Linked DNA regions of Homo sapiens: all the other regions are linked to region 2. Evidence: promoter capture Hi-C in 16 types of primary human blood cells and fetal thymus (Javierre and others, 2016). All regions are on one chromosome and are shown on one strand. The core of a region is centred on a gene start or on the middle of the fragment in contact, and the rest is flanking DNA. Distances in the headings are between cores, read along the strand shown.

Region 1 (4,357 bases), core at 993-3,492, 300 kb after region 2:
TATCTCTAAAACTCACAATACTTCCTCAGGTGAGGTACTTAGGACAAACTAAAGGAAAATGTCTATACCCTAAAATATTCATATCTTTGTTCTCCTTAGCTCCCTTTTTGTATTATAACTTCTAAGAGACTTGAGGACAAGGGCTGTCTCTTTCATTTTTCTCTGGGAATCCCCACAACATCCAAAAACAGCACTCTGCACATACGGATATTCAATGAATGGTACTACAGAAAGAACATATGCTAAGATGAAAGCCCTTTCTTGGAGAGAACTGAATTACTTTACCCAATATATCTGTAAATGGCAACAGCATTACTTTTAAAAACTGTTTTTAAATATACACGTAGACGAAAGTACATATCACAAAATCATTTAAATACATCACAGTGAATAAGGTAGTCAATGAACTTCAGAAATTCTTTTTTCTTTCTTTTTTTTTTTTTTTTTTTGAGACAGAGTCTCGCTCTGTTGCCCAGGCTGGAGTGCAGTGGCACAATCTCAGCTCACCGCAACCTCTGCCTCCTGGGTTCAAGCAACTCTCATGCCTCAGCCTCCCAAGTAGCTGGGATTACAGATGCATGCCACCACACCTGGCTATTTTGTGTATTTTTAGTAGAGACAGTGTTTCACCATGTTGGCCAGGCTGGTCTCAAACTCCTGACCTCAGGTGATCTGCCCACCTTGGCCTCCCAAACTGCTGAGATTACAGGCATGAGCCACCGCACCTGGCCAAGGATTTCTTACATTACGAAATCTTACCTCTTCAAAAACAGCAGCTTTATTTACTTTTTCCCTTGCAATGTCACAGATTTTCAAGATTCCCAGAGCAAAAGCCTTCATAGCAGGATCTTCTATAAAGTCTGGATTATGAATGTAAAGGCACGTAAATACTGTCTGTGCCAGTGAATGGCCTTCTAACCACGTTATCTATAAAGAAACAAAAGAGTATATATTTAAGGTGATAAACTGAGTCTGCAAAGTCTAAATTGATCCTAGAGTCAAAGGCCAGAGCACCATAGACCCAAATAAGATTAATCACAAGACTTAAAAAAAAAAGACACGTTAGAATTCACTTTCATTGACTAACATTTTTCAAGTGTCTATGGGAATCATTGTCGTACATCAATCAGTTTGCAACATATTAGAGATTAATGAAATTAAGACTGCCTCTTTATGTAGCATCCAAAAGAAATCAACTCCACAATGTAGTCAATAAAAAAATCCATAAACTGGAAAATTCACAATTATAGAACTAACCAGATCCTTAGACACTCATTGAACTTTATAATCCTTACCACCACAACCCAGCCAACACCGTATCTCACCTAGATTATTTCAAGAAACTAGATAGGTTTTCCTGCCTCCCATCTCTAATTTAATACCCCCAACTAGAGATCTTTCTAAAACACTAAGATAATTGTTTTATACTATTTTACTAAGTGACCACTATATGTCTGGCACCATGTACTAGAGGTTGGGAATACCAACAATAGGCAAAATTGGGTAAGTACTGTGTCTCAAATATTATACTAGGTTATTTTCAAATATCTTATCTCATTTTTTTCCTAGCACTTTGAGAAAGGTGGTATTTTTCTCCTTTTATATGTAAAGAAACAGAGTAAGAGTTTAAATCATTTGCCCAAGTTTATAGTTATTTTTACCTTAAGCCCAAGAATTCTGCAGTAGAGTAAGACATACGCTACTGCATTGCAAAATGACAAATGTTTGTGGAAAACTCTGTAATTAAGGTGTGTATTTGGTATTAACTAGTGTGCAGAAGACAGACTTTCCAGACTAAAAACCATCTGCCTTTTAAAGTCCAAATTTTTAAATACAGTCCCAAGAGTCTCACAGAATAGTTCCTCAACTTTGGCAAAAATCCTCCCTCTGTTTATCCTTTCCTCCTTCTCCACCACTCTCCACTAATCCCACACTCCTCCTACTTGGCTCCCTGCCAGACTTAAGCAGCTATTTATGATTTTCCAAAATGAACATTTTCACATTGTCATGCCCATGCAATATACCCTCTTTGCCTACTAAACCATGAATCTTCCTGTCATACGCCTACCATTCTTTAGTACCTCACACCAGTATTAATTCCTTTCTACAGCCTTTCTTACTCTCTCAGACATAATTAACTCCTCCTCTCTGTTCCCACGGCACCGTCATAAAAGCATTTACATGTTGTCAGAATTGTTTATTCACATGTCTGTTCCCAGCAATCCTTTGACTCCTTTCTTTACTCCACCCACTAGGACTGTAAACTGCTAAAAGGTAATAAAGAAATCTTTGAGGGGGTAAAGAGACAGCTTTGGAAGATGAAGGATCAGGATTAAGATTCTGGCTAGGCCCCTCCCAAGCAATGTAATCACAGGCAGTAAGATAATACAGATATCTAATAAAGCTCATGTAAAACATAAGTGAAAACTATACATATAAAACACCTAATACAAGTACACACACTAGCAATCAATAAATGCTGAATGAACAAATGAATAAATTTTACATATTTCTAAGGAAAATGATTTAATGTCAATATAAAAAGAAAGGGATGGTCAGAAAGTGGGGCGGGGGGGAAGCAGTAGAAATGAGAATTTCTCGACAAACAGTACTTTCTAGGGAAGACATAATTCAGCATATACAAATCACTAAAAAAATTTTCTTCACAGGAGATGGCCAGTTTACTACAATTTATCCTAGATTAGAAAAAATCTCTCCAAAGCCATTGCATAATAGCTCTCTTTTGTTTCAATTCCATGCTTATTTATGAAACCTTCCAATTACAGACTTATCACTTGAGTAACTTGAGAACGAAAAGGGTATTATGAACCACGGCTATAATATTATCTTCATTGAAAAGAAAATATCCCTTCACCCAGAAAATTAGAATGTAAAATCAAGTAGATAACAAGATGAAATGCTATTACTAGGCCTGTTAATCTTATGCACATCTTTACTAGGGCAAGTATTACATTTATTTCATACTCAACATTAGTGTATAGGCTTTTAAATCACAAGATTCAGGTAAGTCACAGTTTTAAAATTAACCAATAGTCTTATTTCCATTCTTACCAAACAGCAAAAACATGTATCCATAATCCCTATCAGTTCAGGCAAGGTGAGATCTTTAATTTTAATAGTGCCATCCTAAAAAGGAGGAAGAATGTGACATATAAGCAGAAATTTTTTTAAACTTATGGTTACTATGTATAGTAGCATTTTGGATTTCTAACATTCAATATTTAAAAACAGCAATTCTAAGAAAATGCTATCTTATCATCTGATAAAACTATCACACCAAATTAACTCTGTACTCTTAAAAACAATATATCTTCTTATAAATTTTATTTTTAATTGACAAATAATAATTGTAAAAACAATATATCTTAGGTCTTCAACAAGAAATATCAAAATAAAGGCCTTTATATAAAATGAAAAGCCAAATCAACAAGTATTTTAAAAGCACAGTTCAAACCAGCTTTAAGTATTAATATAAATCATTTTAATGACCCAAAACTACTTAGAAAGAAAACTAAAGTTTTTTTTTTTGTTTTTTTTTTTTTGAGACAGAGTCTCACTCTGTCGCCCAGGCTGGAGTGCAGGTGGCGTGATCTCGGCTCAATGCAAGCTCCGCCTCCCGGGTCCACGCCATTCTCCTGCCTCAGCCTCCGGATTAGCTGGGACTACAGGCGCCTGCCACCACGCCCAGCTAATTTTTTGTATTTTTAGTAGAGACGGGGTTTCACTGTATTAGCCAAGATGGTCTTGATCTCCTGACCTCGTGATCCACCCACCTCGGCCTCCCAAAGTGCTGGGATTACAGGCATGAACCACCGCACCCAGCCGAAAACTAAAGATTTTTTAAAATGCTTCACTTAAGTTGGTTAACTATACTATTTGTAAATTTTGTTTACGATATCCATTTGCCTAGTAAATCTTTCTTTATAAAATATGTAAAATCAAACTCTATGGCAAGTATAAATGAATTTCTAAAGCAATTTTAAATTCACTACCACAAGTATTTTACTTGTGTAAATTTACTTTTATATATGAATATATTAATACACAAAATTTAACCCCCAAGCCAATTTTCCTATTTGAATATATAGTCAAATGCTTTCAAAAATTAAATTTAAAAGTACACAAATGCACAAATTTAGAGCAAGATTTTAATGAAGACCTCAATTTTCAGACTTTAACATACAAAGGTTATAACTAATTCTTGTTTATATGCTTGAGCTGCTTTGAAGGAAACAGACTTTAATACAACGTTTCATTTCATTATTAAGCACCATGTTTTAACAGGAAGTAACAAAAGATAAATGGAAACACAAAAAGTACAATGGTAACTACCTTG
Region 2 (4,431 bases), core at 1,932-4,431:
AGGCCAGCAGATCTGTCGCTTAGCAGCAGACTTCAGGCTTTTCATGATCAGTTATAAGCCCACTCTTCCACATCAGGATGCTAAATTGAATGAATCAGGCCATGAGGACAGAGGCCTGCTGTGCTTCATTGTTGCAGGGCGCCTCCCAGCCCTCTGTCACCGGACCCACCAGAATGATTTTTTTTTTCTCAAACAGGAAAGGGTTGGGAACAATCCCTACAAGATCAGATGTCCCTAAGATTTCCAGTATTTCCTAGGTTTCACTCAGCAGGAAATACCTCAAAAAAAAAATGGCCTTTCTTGTCATGTTTTGATACCTGAGAAATCAGGAAATGGAAAAGCCTGTGCTAAGCTGAGCTGTAAGCAACATCAGTGTCTCATTTGAGCCTTAGAGCAGACGTGGCATGGGCCAGACACAGCATCGACCCAGAATAAACCCAAATACAGCTCACCTGAGCTCAGTGCAGGCTGGGAGGCTGGCCTGGAAAGGTGTAGGTTTGGGGTGAGATATGCCTGGATTTGAATCATGGTTCCTGTCATTTTGTAGCCATGTAACCTTCTGTAAAACAGTCTCAGAATTTGGGGGGATGTGATGAGCTAACTACACATAAATGGCATCCTGCTAAGGGTAGACGTTTCATACGTTGTAATTCTTGTCCCTTTTAGCCATTTTCTTGTGCAAAAAGGGATAATATGTTAATGGATTATCAATCAAAGCAAGAGCTTAGGGAAAGAGTTTCAACACATTTAGGGAGTTATTGTCCCATATTCAAATCTGGGGGAAATTTGCTGTATTTCCTTCAAATAAAAGACCACAGTAACTTCTTTGAAAAGAACCATAAATTTCAAATATAAACATTCGGAGAAATTTCATTCTCTTAGTAGCTGATTAACTATAGACAAACCTGCCTTAATTGAGGAGCTGTTTTGAAAGCTCATTCCCCAGTAGGAACTCAATCTCCTGGTCCCAGGTGGGTCTCATCAGACAAGAGATGGAGGAGAGAGGGAGGTGCACCCTAGCCTCAGCCTCTATTGAAATACAGAGCCATGTGGTGGTTACATCACTGTGGACTCCCATCCTCCCTTGCTGCTGTGCAGTGTTCAGGGAAGGCTTCATTTCACACCAACCTTTAGCGGGGCAAGGGCTCTGTACCAGCGGTACTCAGCTTAAAACTAGCCTACTTTGAGGGCCTTGATGGGTTACTGCTTTTACTTCCACTAGCTAGTGATTCCGAAACTTTTCATGATGAAGTGCCCATTTATTGGGCCAGGTGTGTTGGCTCAAGCCTGTAATCCCAGCACTTTGGGAGGCAAAAGTGGGCAGATCACCTGATCCCAGGAGTTCAAGACCAGCCTGGGCAACGTGGTAAAACGCCGTCTCTACAAAAAATACAAAAATTAGCTGGTCATGGTGGTACATGCCTGTAGTCCCCGTTGCTCAGGAGACCAAGGTGAGAGGATCACTTTAGCCCAGGAGGTAGAGGTTGCAGTGAGCCAAGATCGTACTACTGCACTCCAGCCTGGATGACAGAGCAAGACCCTGTCTCAAAAAAAAAAAGAATAAAAAATAAAGTACTCATTTTTTGTTCTCCATGGATTCTATGTCTTGAAGCAGTCCTCAAACTTTAAGGTGCAAATAAGTCACCTGGGGGTCTTGTTAAAAAGCAGATTCTTGGCCGGGCGCAGTAGGTAGCTCACGCCTGTAATCCAGCACTTTGGGAGGCTGAGGCGAGTGGATCACTTGAGGTCAGGAGTTCGAGACCAGCCTGGCCAACATGGTGAAACCCCATCTCTACTAAAAATACACAAAAATTAGCCAGACATAGTGGTGGGCGCCTCTAGTCCCAGCTACTCAGGAGGCTGAGGCAGGAGAATCACTTGAACCTGGGAGGTGGGGAGGTTGCAGTGACATGAGATGGCACCACTGCATTCCAGCCTGGGTGACAGAGCAAAACTGTCTCAAAAAAAAAAAAAAAGCAGATTCTGTAACAAAGGTCCAGGGCAGAGCCTGAGATTCTGCATTAGTAGCAAAGGCCCAAGTGAAGCCAGTGCTGTTGCTCTGCAGAACACCTTTGAATGGCAGGCTTTTGAAATATTTTCTCATTGGAAGAATCTTCTGTATTTATTAAATTCTGCTTAAAATTATTAACTTTCTTGTATATCCATGTTCATAACAGCATTATTCACAATAGCCAAAAGGTAGGAACAACCCAGGTGTCCATTGACAGGGGACAGGGGGTGAGAAATTTATTTCATGGACACAGATTCAGGTGGAAAAGATGAAAAAGCTCTGGAGATGGAAGGCAGTGCAGGTGGCACAACAATGTGAATGTACTGAATGCCACAGAACTGTGTACCTAAAACGGCTTAACACGGTAAGCTTCATGTTATGGATATGTTGCCACGGTGTTCACAAGTTATTAACTCAATCAGACTATTTAAATGCCCAGTAGATTGCATTCTGGGGAAATGGCTGTTTCAGGAAAATTTTCAGTGATTGCCACAGGGACCTCCCATGGGTGGGGAATGGAGTCTGGAGCACGGCTGCATGGCTCATGGAGAGAATTTGCACAGCCAGGTAGCCCCTGGTCCACTTCTACCCATATCTGGCCAGGTGCAAAGAGCATAGCTGTACCTTCTATTATCTCTCTCAATTTCTTATTTGCACTTTGCCCATGTCTATAGAAGGAAAAACTTGACTGATTAAAAATTACATTCACGGCACCTGTAGTCCCAGCTACTCAAGAGGCTGAGGCAGGAGAATGGCGTGAACCCGGGAGGCGGAGCTTGCAGTGAGCTGAGATCGTGCCACTGCACTCCAGCCTGGGCGACAGAGTGAGACTCCATCTCAAAAAAAAAAAAAAATTATACTCACGCCAGCCTGGGCAACATGGCGAAACCCCATCTCTAGAGAAAAATACATAAATTAGCCAGGCGTGGTGGCGTGCGCCCGGGGTCCCAGCCACAAGCTGAGGCAGAAAAAAAAGTAGCTACTCAGCTACTCAATGTTCACTCTTTAAAAATGCTTTTCCATCATCCTCCACCGTCTCCCACCCCCCACCAAGCAGCAAGATAATTCCCCATCGCTTAGCATCATATAGCTGCTTATGTGACCTTGAGAATGTCCACATGTCACAATGGACAGTCACTTAACACTAAGCAATGACACATGCTAGGAGTGGGGCTGGGCCTTGGGGCTGCTGGATGAATGAGACCCAGCCTCTGCCCTGGGAGTGCAGAGACTCAAGACAGATATGACCACGTGAAGAGACAACTGTAAAACAAGTGGTAAGTGCATCTACAGCCATAGCCACGGGGCACTGTGAGACCACAGAGCAGTGAAAACTAAGCCAGTCTAGGCTTGGCAAGGAGAGATGGAGTGAGGTGGGCAGTGGCTAAGGTGGGAAGACCAGAGCTGGGAGGTGAGATGGGATTTGGGTTTATCTTTACCAATAAGGATGAGGAGCCTGTTTCATCTTCCTCCAGGCAGGTCACAGAAGCTGGAACCAGTTGATCGGGCCGAGCCTGCAGACTCCCTCATCCTTTCCGGCCTTCAACACTGATAGCTCTGCTCTCTCTCCCCAACCTCAGTGCCTTCATCCTCCCCTGTGTTCCCATGGATGCTTGGTCCTGACTTTGCACCTCTCCCTCACACCCAGTGTCCTTTGTTTTTCCTCTGCCACTTGGGAGGCTGATGGGAGGATCACCTGAGCCTGGGAGGTTGAGGCTGCAGTGACCTGTGTTCACGCCACTGCACTCCAGCTGGGGTGACAGAATGAGAGCCTATCTCAAAGAAAAAAAAAAAACACTGCTCTGTATGATACTATCAAAGTGGATATATGTAATTGCACATTGTGAAATCTCATAGAATGCACAACACCAAGAATGGACCGTAATGTAAACTGTGAAGTATGGGCTTTAGTTAGTAACCATGCATTGATACCGGCTCATCAAGTATAACAAACGTACCACACAAACATAAGTAGTAAAAAAAAAAGGGGAAAGCTGTGTGTATGGTGCAGAGAAGGGGGGTTGTGGGAACATTGTACTTTCTAACCAATTCTAAAATTGCTCTAAAATTTAAGTATATTAATATTTTTAAAAAAAGTTTCGTTAAATTAGCAATATAATAGTTGCTTACCCAAGAAAATTCAGGTTTTCAAATATTGCGTTTTAAAAGCAATTATTTCCGGATGTGAGGGTGATCTGGCTGCAACATCTGTCACCCCACTGATGGCCAGGGTTAATTTGTCTGATCTGGCTGGCTAGGTGGATGTCTCCTTCCTCCCTCATCCGTCCACATGCGTCCTTCCAGACGCTGCGGACAACCTTCCCCAACAGAGGAGGGCCGTTCTTTGGGCAAGGGTATATGAGTAGCTGCACTCCCCTGCTAGAACCTCCAAACAAGCTCTCTAAAAGTAATTACTTCAA
Region 3 (4,400 bases), core at 986-3,485, 340 kb after region 2:
AGCCATTGTTATCACATTGGTACTAGGTGAAAATATGTTCATATGTTCAGCACTACAAATAACTGCCATACAAGTGAATTTTTGGAATACAGCTTATTTATGAAATGGTGACTCACATGGCAATGCTATTTTTTTTCTTGGTAAAGGGAACAATTGTTAATGGATAGAATCAATTGTGTTCGCCCATTTATTTTATCCAGATACAAGGCAGCTGGGTTGTCTTGATGTGGAAAACAAAATGTCTGGCTTTAGTAACACTCGAAATAGTTCATACAATAGGATCTGGCATGCAGGCCTCAAATCCCAAATGCACTATTCATGTGCAGAAAGCAATCTAGGTTTCTGGTGGTATACAAAAACAAAGATATGCACCTCAATTAGCTTCTGATTTCAAAGAAGAGTGGTACATGTTAACAACTCACTATAACATGAGCCAGCATGAAGCAGAGTATCACAAGAGTGGTAGAAGCTTTAAAGAAAGTCCAAAGACAACCCAAGGAATGGAAGATAATTTTTGCAAGTCATATATCTGATACAAGACTTGTATATAGGACATATAAAGAACTATTACAACTCAATAATAAATAGACAAGTAACCCAATCTAAAAATAAGCAAAAGATCTGAATAGGCTATTCTCCAAATAAGAACTACAAATGGCCAGTGTACACATGAAAAGATACTCAGCATTAGCCATCAGGAAAATACAAATGAGACACCACTTCACATCATAAAAGAGATCCATAATAAAAATTGTTGATAAGGATGTGAAGAAATTGGAACCCGCATACGTTGCTGATAGGAATGTAAGATGGCACAGCTGCTTTGAAAAGAATAGCAGTTCCTCAAAAGGCTAAAACAGGCCAGACACACTGGCTCACACCTGTAATCCCACCATCTTGGAAGGCCAAGGCAAGTGGATCACTTGAAGCCAGGAGTTCAAGACCAGTCAGAGCAACAAAGTGAGACCCAGTCTCTACAAAAACATTTTTAAAAATTAACCAGGCATGGTGGTGCACGTCTGTAGTCTTAACTATTAAAGAGGCTGAAGCAGTAGGATCACTTGAGTCCAGGAATTCAAGGCTGCAAGGCTGTGATCCCACCACTGTACTCCAGCCTGGGCAACAAAGTGAGACCCTGTCTCAAGAAAAAAGAAAAGAAAAGAAAAGAAAGCTAAACATATGTTACCCTATAACCCATCTATTCTACTCCTAGGTATATACCTGAGAGAAATAAAAACTTATTTCCACACAATGTGTACATGAATGTCCTGTTAAAAGAAAAACTTTAGACAAATTAAACTTAGAGTTTAATTGAGCAAAGAACAATTAACAAATCAGGCTCTGGGGCTGCCACATAGTCACATGACATTTATGCACAGAAAAAGAAATGATATATGGAAAACAGAAGTGAGGTAAGGAAAAAGGTGGATTGGTTACAGCTCTGCATTTGCCTTATTGGAACGTGGTTTAAACAGTTGGCTGCCTGTGATTGGCTGAAATTCAGCTTCTGTGATTGGCTCTCTGCTACTTGTTACAAGACTAGGTTACAGTCCCTTTATTCCTAAGAGCCAAAAAGTGAAAACAACCCAATGTCTATCAATTGATGATGGATAAATAAAATGTGATATATTCATACAATGGAATACTATTCAGCAATAAAGAGAAATGAAGTATTGATACATGCTATAACATGGATGATGAACCTTGAAACTCTGATGTTCAAAGGAGAAGCCAGTCACAAAAGACCACATCATTATATGATTGCATTGATGTAAAATATCTAGAGAAGGCGAACCTCTAGAGACAAAAAGTAGACCAGTGGTTGCCTAGGGCTAGGGGAGTTAGAAGGTTGGGAGTGATGGCTAAGGGGTACAGGGTTTCTTTCTGAGGTAATGAAAATGTTCTAAAATACATTGTCATGATGGGCCCACAACTCTGAAAATACTACCAGCCCTTGAACTGTACACCTTCAATAGATTAATTGCATGGTATGTGAGTTATATCTCAATATAGCTCTTTTAAAAAAGAATTTGACCAGGTGCGGTGGCTCATGCGTACAGTCCCAACACTTTGGGAAGCTGAGTGGGGAGGACTGCTTGAGCCCAAAATGTTGAGGCAGCGGTGAGCCATGATCGTGCCACTGAACTCCAGCCTGGGCAACAGGGAAAGACCCTGTCTCCAAAAAAAAAAAAAAAAAAAAAAGTAGAATTTGAGCATGGTCAGGAGTGCGAATGGGGAGTGATTGTAAGGGGTCATGAGGGATGTTTCTGGGGTAGTGATAGCTTTACAACTTTGTAAATTTACTAAAAATCATTTAACTGAAGCTGCAATACAACATTTTTTTAAAAAATTAAGCTCTCAGAGGGCTTGGGATTCCAGCTCAGAGAGGCAAGAAACATTCCTGGTTAGAACTCAAACTCCTGGAATAGTCCCAGAAGCAGAAGGTCTGGAGGGCAGCATATTTTATGGCCAACCTGGTACCATTGGAGGGATTTGTGGCCACCCACAAGGCCCAAAGAGCTGCTAGCAATAGTATCTCATAAGTTGCAGCTAACCAGTCATATGTTGATTTCAAAGTGGGTAAGTGTCAAAGAATGGGCAACTTGGGAAGATCCACATTTCTCCTGGCTCCACCTGAACCTCCAGAGCACAGGGTAATGAAAGTTTTTAGAAACCCACCAGGTGATTCTGATGTGAAGCCAAAGTTGAGAATCACTTCTCTAGAGAAAGCTGGCTGATACGGTTTGGAGGTTTGTCCCCTCAAAATTTCATGTTGAAATGTAATCCCCAATGTTAGAGGTGGGGCCTGGTGGGAGGTGTCTGGGTCATGGAGGCAAGTCCCTCATGAAATGGCTTGGTGCCATCTTCATGGTAATGAGTGAGTTCGATCAATAGATAGATAGGTAGATAGATAGACAGACGGACAGACAGACAGATAGATGATAGATAGATAGATACAGAGAGATAGATGCTCTATCTATCTCTCTAGGCTGACACACATTCACTCAAACTGATGCTCCCTTCTCTTTCAAGTCACTAGATGGAAGAAACAATTTCCTATCCTGATCAGTGTGGATCGGGTGTGACTTGGTGTGTCACACAAAACAGCAAACATCACTTGACTTCTACCTTGATTTCTGAACAGCACACAAATGAAAAAGGAAGGAATGAAGTAGCTTAGGGCAGGAGAAGATGAGAAAGACATCACAGTTTTAAGGTGAACTCATACCTCTTACATTTTAGTAAAGAGGCATTACTTATTACTATGGCTTTTAGATTAAATAGTGAATATTTGTTTATAAATTAATTTTTCCATGGGTCTACTGGACTAGGAGCCATGAAAGCAGAGCTTTTCAAACCCAAGAGTGCATCAGAATCACCTGAATGGCTTGTTAATATGTCCTGCTCCTTCTTCCCCAGATCCTGATTCAGCAGGTCCAGGGTGAGGCCCATGACTTTACACTTCTAACAAGCTGCTAGGCAATGGCTTGCTTCAGACCACACCTCAGCCCTATGCTAGAAGGCAGAATCCACCTATACCTCAACGAGTCACACATTTAATCAGTACACAACATATTCAAGACCCTACATTAGCTACTTAGAAAAAAGGGACATAATTGGTTTTTAACAGGTTCATAGTCTTGTAGAAGCAAAAATGTAAAGAATTTCTGTCTTTTGTCAACTTTAAATTTATTAGAAAACTCAAATAGGATAAAGATGAGCTATAAAATCAATAGAATTTTGACACCAAGAAGACATTTACATCCAAACCCAAGACATTTTTAATAAATGTGCTCCCTTCTTACATCAGCAAGGGTCAGTTTCTGTCATTTATAACCAGGAACCACGGAGTCTCTTTCCTTATTTTGAGGTGTGACTGAAATGGAAAGAATTTCAGTTTCTTCCATTTAGGGAAAGGTAATAATATGGGGAAGATAATAATAGCACCCATTTTTTAGCATAATTGGAAAGATGAAATAAGATCATATATAGAAAGCTTGAAATATAAAGAATTTATTTTAACAATGTCTGGCACATAATAGATGCCTAAATCTTAGCACTTGGAGCTGATTGTATGGGAAAGGGGAAGCGAGAGATTATAGCTGCTGGTGGAATTTTAAAGAATCCCTTGGCCAGGCGCAGTGGCTCATGCCTGTAATCCTAGCACATTGGCAGGCCAGGGTGGGCGGATCACTTGAGGTCAGGAGTTCGAGACCAGCCTGGCTAACATGGCAAAACCCTGTCTCTACTAAAAATACAAAAATTAGCCAGGCATAGTGGCAGGTGCCTGTAATCCCAGTTACTTGTGAGGCTGAGCCATGAGAATCGCTTGAACCTGGGAAGTGGAGGTTGCAGTGAGCTGAGATTGTGCCACTACACTCCAGCCTGGGCAACAGAGC

The links. Contacts are between HindIII fragments. The CHiCAGO score rates a contact against its expected background, and 5 or more counts as called.
Region 1: a fragment that was not itself captured here is called in contact with the fragment with the promoter of C9orf153 in region 2 in 1 of 17 cell types (total B cells); the score reaches 5.2 in total B cells.
Region 3: a contact is called between a fragment that was not itself captured here and the fragment with the promoter of C9orf153 in region 2, in 1 of 17 cell types (naive CD8 T cells). The highest score is 5.3, in naive CD8 T cells.

The regions. Positions count from the first base shown.
Region 1 is chr9:85,958,583-85,962,939 of GRCh38, reverse strand. It overlaps NAA35 (N-alpha-acetyltransferase 35, NatC auxiliary subunit), which reads right to left. Exons shown (of 23, transcript NM_024635.4): 4 at 4,354-4,357; 5 at 3,073-3,147; 6 at 760-927. Among named protein-coding and RNA genes, the nearest start is that of NAA35, 20 kb to the right of the region's middle. The HindIII fragment of the contact is 4,550 bases long and covers 1-4,357 here.
Region 2 is chr9:86,258,407-86,262,837 of GRCh38, reverse strand. It overlaps C9orf153 (chromosome 9 open reading frame 153), which reads left to right and starts at 3,181. Exons shown (of 4, transcript NM_001276366.4): 1 at 3,181-3,288. It also overlaps the pseudogene RN7SKP264. The HindIII fragment of the contact is 3,437 bases long and covers 2,383-4,431 here.
Region 3 is chr9:85,921,111-85,925,510 of GRCh38, reverse strand. No RefSeq gene overlaps it. Among named protein-coding and RNA genes, the nearest start is that of NAA35, 18 kb to the left of the region's middle. The HindIII fragment of the contact is 3,528 bases long and covers 472-3,999 here.